Regions from separate parts of the Homo sapiens genome. Here region 1 is linked to region 2. The links are contacts of gene promoters, found by promoter capture Hi-C in blood cells and fetal thymus (Javierre and others, 2016). All regions are on one chromosome and are shown on one strand. Each heading gives the region's core, a stretch centred on a gene start or on the middle of the fragment in contact. The rest is flanking DNA. Distances are from core to core; before and after follow the strand shown.

What was found. The method cuts DNA at HindIII sites, captures the fragments that hold promoters and counts their contacts. A CHiCAGO score of 5 or more calls a contact.
Region 1: a contact is called between a fragment that was not itself captured here and the fragment with the promoter of UCK1 in region 2, in 1 of 17 cell types (neutrophils). The highest score is 5.8, in neutrophils.

Annotation. Positions count from the first base shown.
Region 1 is chr9:131,731,223-131,734,782 of GRCh38, reverse strand. All of the region lies in intron 1 of RAPGEF1 (Rap guanine nucleotide exchange factor 1), which reads left to right. Among named protein-coding and RNA genes, the nearest start is that of RAPGEF1, 7.1 kb to the left of the region's middle. RefSeq lists silencers at 907-1,201, 1,578-1,627. The HindIII fragment of the contact is 9,723 bases long and covers 1-3,560 here.
Region 2 is chr9:131,529,180-131,532,772 of GRCh38, reverse strand. It overlaps UCK1 (uridine-cytidine kinase 1), which reads left to right and starts at 1,510. Exons shown (of 7, transcript NM_031432.5): 1 at 1,510-1,706; 2 at 2,128-2,287; 3 at 3,189-3,285; 4 at 3,503-3,593. The coding sequence starts at 1,599. RefSeq lists silencers at 1,105-1,274, 1,415-1,774, 1,975-2,024 and enhancers at 1,440-2,353, 3,059-3,593. The HindIII fragment of the contact is 8,496 bases long and covers 1-3,593 here.

The sequences.
Region 1 (3,560 bases), core at 921-3,420, 200 kb before region 2:
ACATTTTTGTCATGATATATTTTCTCAGAACAGATACTAAGAGTACAGGCCCTATGATGTAGGGCTACTCATTTTTGTGGCCTGAGAAAGAGGTCCTCTTAGATTGGCAGTCATTGTATTTCGATCAATTTTAAACTCGTCAAATTTGTACTTCCTTTTTCCTCCATAGTTAGGAATTTTTGTCGTCAAAGTATACTCAGTCAAGCAATGAGACATTTTGATGGCACCTGCTCTGCCTCCTTTCACTCACCCGTTTTAACACTTACTGAGTGCCTCCTTGTTGGCAAACACCAAGTGATGCCTCGTGGCAGGGAGCCAGCAGGAACCTGTCCCTGGAGGCCACAGTCCAGGGGTAGAATCAGAACGATCTTGAACATCTCTGCAATTTCCTGTGGTTTTCAGAATGCATTTATAGACTACCTCATTTCATTTCATCCTCACAACAGCCCAGGGGGTGAGGGCAGGGCGGAGTATCCCTCTTTTGCCCCTCAGGGCAGCTAAGGCCCAGGGAAATTTGGTTGTTTGCCCAAGGTCATGCCCTGGAGAAGTGGAATGGGGAACCGGCCCCCTTTCTTGCCTTTATAGAGCACTGGTTAGAGCCTCCCTGGTTGCTGGGGACACAGCTTTCCATCTTAATTCTTCAGGCTTCTCAATCTCTTTTCTGATCTTTGAAAAAAAAGATCTACCAATGAAATTAAGGGAGGCTCACTACAGTCTTTAGACTGCGTCTGATACTCGTAATACTAGTCACATTAACAGTGCTGTAGAGAGATAAGAAATAGCACTAATGCCAGCTAAGTGTGTTTTTAGAAAAATCAACCACAGCAACCCCAAATGTTTCCTGGTCTCCAGAGCAGCTGTTGGCAGAGGCGGTTTGAATGGGATTCCTTGTAGCCAAGAGACCTTATAGGAGGTCTGTAGAGATGAGTCATGTGTGAGCTTGCAGAAAAATGTCTCCCAAAGTAGCCCGGATTGGAGATTGCCTTGAGTGCCAGGCTGGGTCTTACCTCAGGCCAGCTGAGCGTGTTCCCCATGGCCAGGATAAGATCACGCTCTGGAAAGAGGAGAGGCCTGACAACCCACCGCCTGCCCCACCCCGCGGCCGCCTCGCCGCCGGGACAGGTGTTCCTCTGACTCGTCACCCGTCTTGCCCCAAAGGCTGTTTTATGAGTAAATAAATAAAACCCACCGTTTGTGAATTATTAAGGGATCTGTCATCCAGCAGGCCAGTCATCTTAGTTTCTGGTCATCTGTTTGAGAACATCTTAGTTGTGTCCTTGGGTGATTCTTACCCTTTCCTGGGGCTTATTTTCCCCATCAGTGCCAGGAAGGAGTGGGACTCAAAAGGAGCGCTCCTCTGTTTGTGTTTTTAAGCTGTAGCCACTGCCCCCGCCAACCCCGCACCACCCCCCCCCCCGCCCCCGCCCCGGCTTTTTTAAATTTTAAGTTCTGGAATACATGTGCTGAACGTTCAGGTTTGTTACATAGGTATACATGTGCCGTGGCGGTTTGCTGCACCTATCAACCCGTCATCTAGGTTTGAAGCCCCGCATGCGTGACTGCAGGCCCTTTTTTATACATAAGAAGGCCATTAGGTAACCACTAATGGGGAAGCCTCTTTGAATGCAGTCCTTCCTGCTTAGCTGTGGCCGAGGCTCCTCCTTGGACCCTCCACCCCAAACACAATGTGAAAACCCACTTCCTCGATGCTCTCACAGCTGCCTCTACCAAAATCAACTTCCTCTGGGCTCTTTGTGCCTTCTCTTCCTCTAACATATAGTAAATTCCATGGAAATGCCCCAGATCAATGCTTGAGTAGAATGATGTTTCACTCATTCAAAATCAAAGCCCCAGTTTCCTTTCTGCAAGTTAAAAAATCAACAAGTGAAATGTTAAACAGATGATTAGCTCCGTGAGGGAGTGTGTCTACCACTGCGGTGCCATTACGGTGCCTTGAACGCAATAGGTGCTCAGTAAATACTTACTAAAAGAATGAGTGAATTTAGTTAATATTATCATAGAATGAATTTTAGTTTCTGGTTCCAAGTCTCAAATTATCTTTAGACGTAGCTTATTGTGGTTTCAAATTGCCAATTAGGATGTTTCTTGGTACATTAGTAGGACCAATATCTGATCAGTGGTGTGCAGTTAGTTGGGGGTTCTGTGTTTTCCTGTAGTCCTCTGAACACTAATGATGAGGTTAGGATCAAATTCCCAGAACACCACTGGGAGAACGCCAGGACACCGTGAAGGCTGAGCCGCCACTCGGTTCTGATGCCGCATCCATTGGTCAGTGCACGTTCTTTGAGCTTCCACTTGAGTGCACGTTCTTTGAGCTTCCACTTGAGTGCATGTTCTTTGAGCTTCCACTTGTAGTGACTGCCTGGTTCTTTGGGATGTGCAGGAGCAAAGCGCTCTTAGGTAATGCTCGTTCTGCCCTGTGTTTACAAACCAAGGCCTGTGCCAGCTCTACTCAGCCTGACACCCATAATGAGCACCATCCCAGGAATCCCTGTCCCTACTTGTTATTTTTTTTTTTTTCAGTTGGCCTTTGAATGTGATTTAGGACTGGCTTCCTGCAGCATTACTCTCTTTTCCCAGGATGACTGTGCAGCGTGTGCTGTCTAGGGCTGGGGTGCAGGCTGTTGGTGTGCCTCTGGCACCCCCTTCCTTCTTTGTCAAGAGGCATGGGCAGTATTTTCTTGCTACTTCCCCCTCCTCTGTGAGCTAAGGTACAGGGGGGGAGGTTCATCTGAATTTATTAGAAATCTGCTGTCTGCTGGTCACAATTCCTTTCTCCCACTTTCTTCTCCCAGGCTGTAGTTTGAAAGACAGGTGACAATTCTCTGAACCCAAGTCCCACCCTGCAGTCTGGACTGCTGCTTCCCGGAACACCACGACTCCTGTAACAGCTTAGACTTCTGTCCCCACAGTCCCTTAGCAGCAGCTTTCTCTTTGCTTTTCACTGGCTTGCCCAAACCACACAGTGACTTTACTGCATATTAAGTTTTGTGATCAGGCGATTCTGCAGTGCTTTTAAAGCGTAGAAATGGAGCACTGAGCACAGGATGCTGTGTGGTTTGCCCAGGGCTGGGTTCAGAGGGGCGGATTTCAGGCATTTGCTCTATAGCTTTTAAAATTTGTGCCACTGATGTGGACCTGACAGATGCGATTCCCAGCCACACACTGTATTGTTAAAAACGGAGCAGGAGTGTGACACTGACAGTAACTGAGAGAAGGAAGGACATGGAATGAGAAGAGAGGACAGCTGACATCCAGTGGAATGTGACCGTGTTAAATAGCCACTTAGCTGACCCCAAACGAGCAAACAAACAAAACCCCTGGTTGGAAACAGTGGTTGTATTTATTTGCTGGTTATCACATGCGCCCATCCTCCTTCAAGTGATGGTTCTGAATAAATAGATGGATGATTGTTCATGAGTCATGGAATTGGCTACTCTCAACCCCTCCTTTCAATAATAAATACAAATAATAGTAGTAGCTGATGTTCATTAGGCACTTACCACGTGCTGTACCAGGCTCGCTTCTGTATATTTTAC
Region 2 (3,593 bases), core at 261-2,760:
TAGAGAACCCCAGGTTTGGTCAGGAGGCAGAAGCAGGGGCGAGGGGAGAGCCCAGGCCTGAGGCTTTCTTGGGGTTTCCATGGAAAAGGCCTGGCAGGGCAGGGAAAGAGTTTAAAATTGGCTAGTTTGAGTAATTCTAGCAGGCTCTGGGCTGCAGAGTGGTCTCTAGTCACCTGATACCTGGCCCTGGGTGACTTAGGGCAGGGAGAATCTTGCCTCCAAAGGCGAGAATTAGATAAGGAGGTAGCTGGGGCTGTAGACTTGGGGTCTTTTTTTTTTTTTTTTTTTTTTTTGAGACAGAGTCTCACTCTTTCCCCCAGGCCGGAGTGCAGTAGCGTGATCTTGGCTCACTGCAAGCTCCACCTCCCGGGTTCACACCATTCTCCTGCCTCAGCCTCCCGAGTAGCTGGGACCACAGGCGCCCGCCACCATGCCCGGCTAATTTTTTGTATTTTTAGTAGAGACGGGGTTTCACCATGTTAGCCAGGATGGTCTCGATCTCCTGACCTCGTGATCCACCCGCCTCGGCCTCCCAAAGTGCTGGGATTACAGGTGTGAGCCACCGCGTCCGCCCGGGGTTGTCTGTTTTGTATATGAAAAGCATGCTCTGCCCCGAGCCTTAGCTATCTCTCTCTCTTTTTTATTTTTGAGACGGAGTCTTGCTCTGTGGCCCAGGCTGGAGTGCAGTGGCACCATCTCGGCTCACTGCAACCTCCACCTCCCGGGTTCAAGCGATTCTCCTGCCTCAGCCTCCCAAGTAGCTGGGATTACAGGCGCCCGCCACCACGCCCAGCTGATTTGTTGCATTTTTAGTAGAGGCGGGGTTTCACCGTGTTCGCCAGGATGGTCTCGATCTCCTGACCTCGTGATCTACCCGCCTCAGCCTCCAAAAGTGTTGGGATTACAGGCGTGAGCCACCGCGCCCGGCTGGAAATCCATAATTTCAATGGATCAGAATTTGCCTGTCACGTTCTCTGTGCCAGGCACGGAGCGGGGGGGCGGCAGGGATGGAACCCGGCACATGGGCCTCTGCCTCCTTGGCGCGCTGTAGGCGCGAGCCTAAAGTCATCAGGCGACAGCCCCCGCCACGTTCCGGGGCGCCCCGACGGCTCCAGCAGCGGGTGGGGTGGGAGGCGTCCGGACAGTCCGGAGGCCTCGATGGCCAAGAGGAGCCTGGGCTGGAGGGGGCCAGGCCCGGGGGCGGCCGGGGGAGGGCCCGGGACTGGCGCAGAGGCAGCGCGAGGCAGAGGCAAGCACTCGGACGAAGGCGCAGCCCCAGCCTCGGGGTGCGGAACGGGCACCTTCCGGGCCACTTGAGTCTGAGACCTTGTAGCCGGCTCGAGGCCCGGGCGCAGCAGTCCCTGCCAGCCAGCTTTCGGCGCAATGGGACGCGGGCGCTCCTGGTGTGCCGGCCTCGGGCCCTGCACCCTCACGCATGCGCGGCCCCCCCCCCCCCGGTGGACTACAACTCCCGGCGTGCCCCGCGCGCCTCCCGGAAGTGATCGCTCCGGTTGCCTCCGACCTCGGCGCTGGGCGGGCGCGCCGGGCCTGGGGAAGGGGCGGGCGCGGGGACCCGATGCGCGGGAGCGGAGGCCGAGATGGCTTCGGCGGGAGGCGAAGACTGCGAGAGCCCCGCGCCGGAGGCCGACCGTCCGCACCAGCGGCCCTTCCTGATAGGGGTGAGCGGCGGCACTGCCAGCGGGAAGGTAAGGGGCCGAGCGGGCCGGGGTCTCGCCTCTCGCCGGTGCCTACGGGCGGCCCGGTCCAGAGAGGAGACCCCAGCCCCGGCCGAGGGGCCCCCTGCCAGGCAGGGGCAGGGCGCGGGAGCGAAGGGGCTGCAGGCCGCGATGGGCCGGGGCGGGCTGGGGCGGGCGAGGGGTTGGGGCGCTGGGCCTCGGGGCTCCCCCACAGCCTCTCCGCCGGCCGGGCTCCTCGGAGCCCCAAGTCCGTGCTAACCCCGTTGGGCCCCCGCGGCCCTTCCGCTGAGACCATCCACACCTGTTGGTGTCCTCCCGCCTTCCGAGCATACCCCCCAGGGGGCGGGTGGGTCAGTGTCTCCAGAAGCCGGCCCCGTGCCTGTCACAGGACGAGCGGTTCCAGGCGGGAATCCCGCTTCTGTGTCTCCAGTCGACCGTGTGTGAGAAGATCATGGAGTTGCTGGGACAGAACGAGGTGGAACAGCGGCAGCGGAAGGTGGTCATCCTGAGCCAGGACAGGTTCTACAAGGTCCTGACGGCAGAGCAGAAGGCCAAGGCCTTGAAAGGACAGTACAATTTTGACCATCCAGGTAAATCGCGAGCCCAACGATGTGGGGAGGGCAGACCCCATTCTGGGCGGCCGCTAACCAGCTGCGCTTGGGCCCAAGGTTGGATGGATGCAGACCCGCTTGGGCTGTTCCCCCAACTCGCCACGCAGCCTGCAGTGGAGTTGGCTGCACAGTGAAGTCAGGGGAACTTTGCTGAGTTCTCTGGGCCCTGAGTGTCCCCCCAGGAGCGTGGTTGGAGCCAGTCAGGAAGCCTGTTGCACTGTGGGGAGCCCTGCCCTGCCCTGCCACAACTGTGATCCTGGAGAAATCCTCCCATCTTCCCTTCCCACGTTGGGGCCTTTAGGGCCCTCCACACACACCTCTGCCCACTGTGCCCTCCCGTGCTTTGGGGCAAAGTCCTCAGAGAGGCCAGTGTGGGAGGCGGTAGGTAAACTAGTGCTGGTGGCTTGAAGCTCCGGGCCAGGTAAACGGGCAGATGCGGCAGGGAGACACCTGCCACTGCTAGAAGATTCCACCCTGGCTGGCTGGCATGGTCAGCCTTTTCCCAAGGACTTGTGGGAAGAAGGCCTGCAAAGCCGCAGTCTAACCAGTTAGTCCCAGAAAGAGAGAGAAGCAGAGGCCCAGCCTACCCACCTCCCAGGAAGAGCTGATCAGAAAACCCCTGTGTTCCGGCATCTCAGGGGCACAGAGCTTGGGCAGTGGCACAGCCCGAGAACAGCAAGGACAGGGTCATCCTGTGGTCTGCAGGGCTGCAGAGGGCACTGTTGCTACCAAACATACACTGCCGTAGTCCTAGTCTACCTGTGCTAGGGTTCTCGGTGTCCCCAGCACCCAGCTGTGCTGACCCCAGAGCAGAGAGGGTTCCCTGCTGTCCGCTGCACGAGGGCATCTGCCTGTCTTGCCTTTGTCTCCAACCCTGCAGATGCCTTTGATAATGATTTGATGCACAGGACTCTGAAGAACATCGTGGAGGGCAAAACGGTGGAGGTGCCGACCTATGATTTTGTGACACACTCAAGGTAAGCAGGTGGTTCTAGGGAGGGCCGAGGAGAGGGGCCAGCTAGGACGTCCCCTCGGGCTCACACAGACCTGCCTGGCGGCAGGCCTCCCCCGGTTGGTTTCTGTGGGTCCCCCACCCCTTCCCACAGTCAGTGTCCCTGCAATGGAAGCTGACTGTGTGTGTGGCCTGGAGACCCTGTGTCTGCAGCAGAGCCCCTTTCCCCGTGCGCCCCTCAGGTTACCAGAGACCACGGTGGTCTACCCTGCGGACGTGGTTCTGTTTGAGGGCATCTTGGTGTTCTACAGCCAGGAGATCCGGGACATGTTC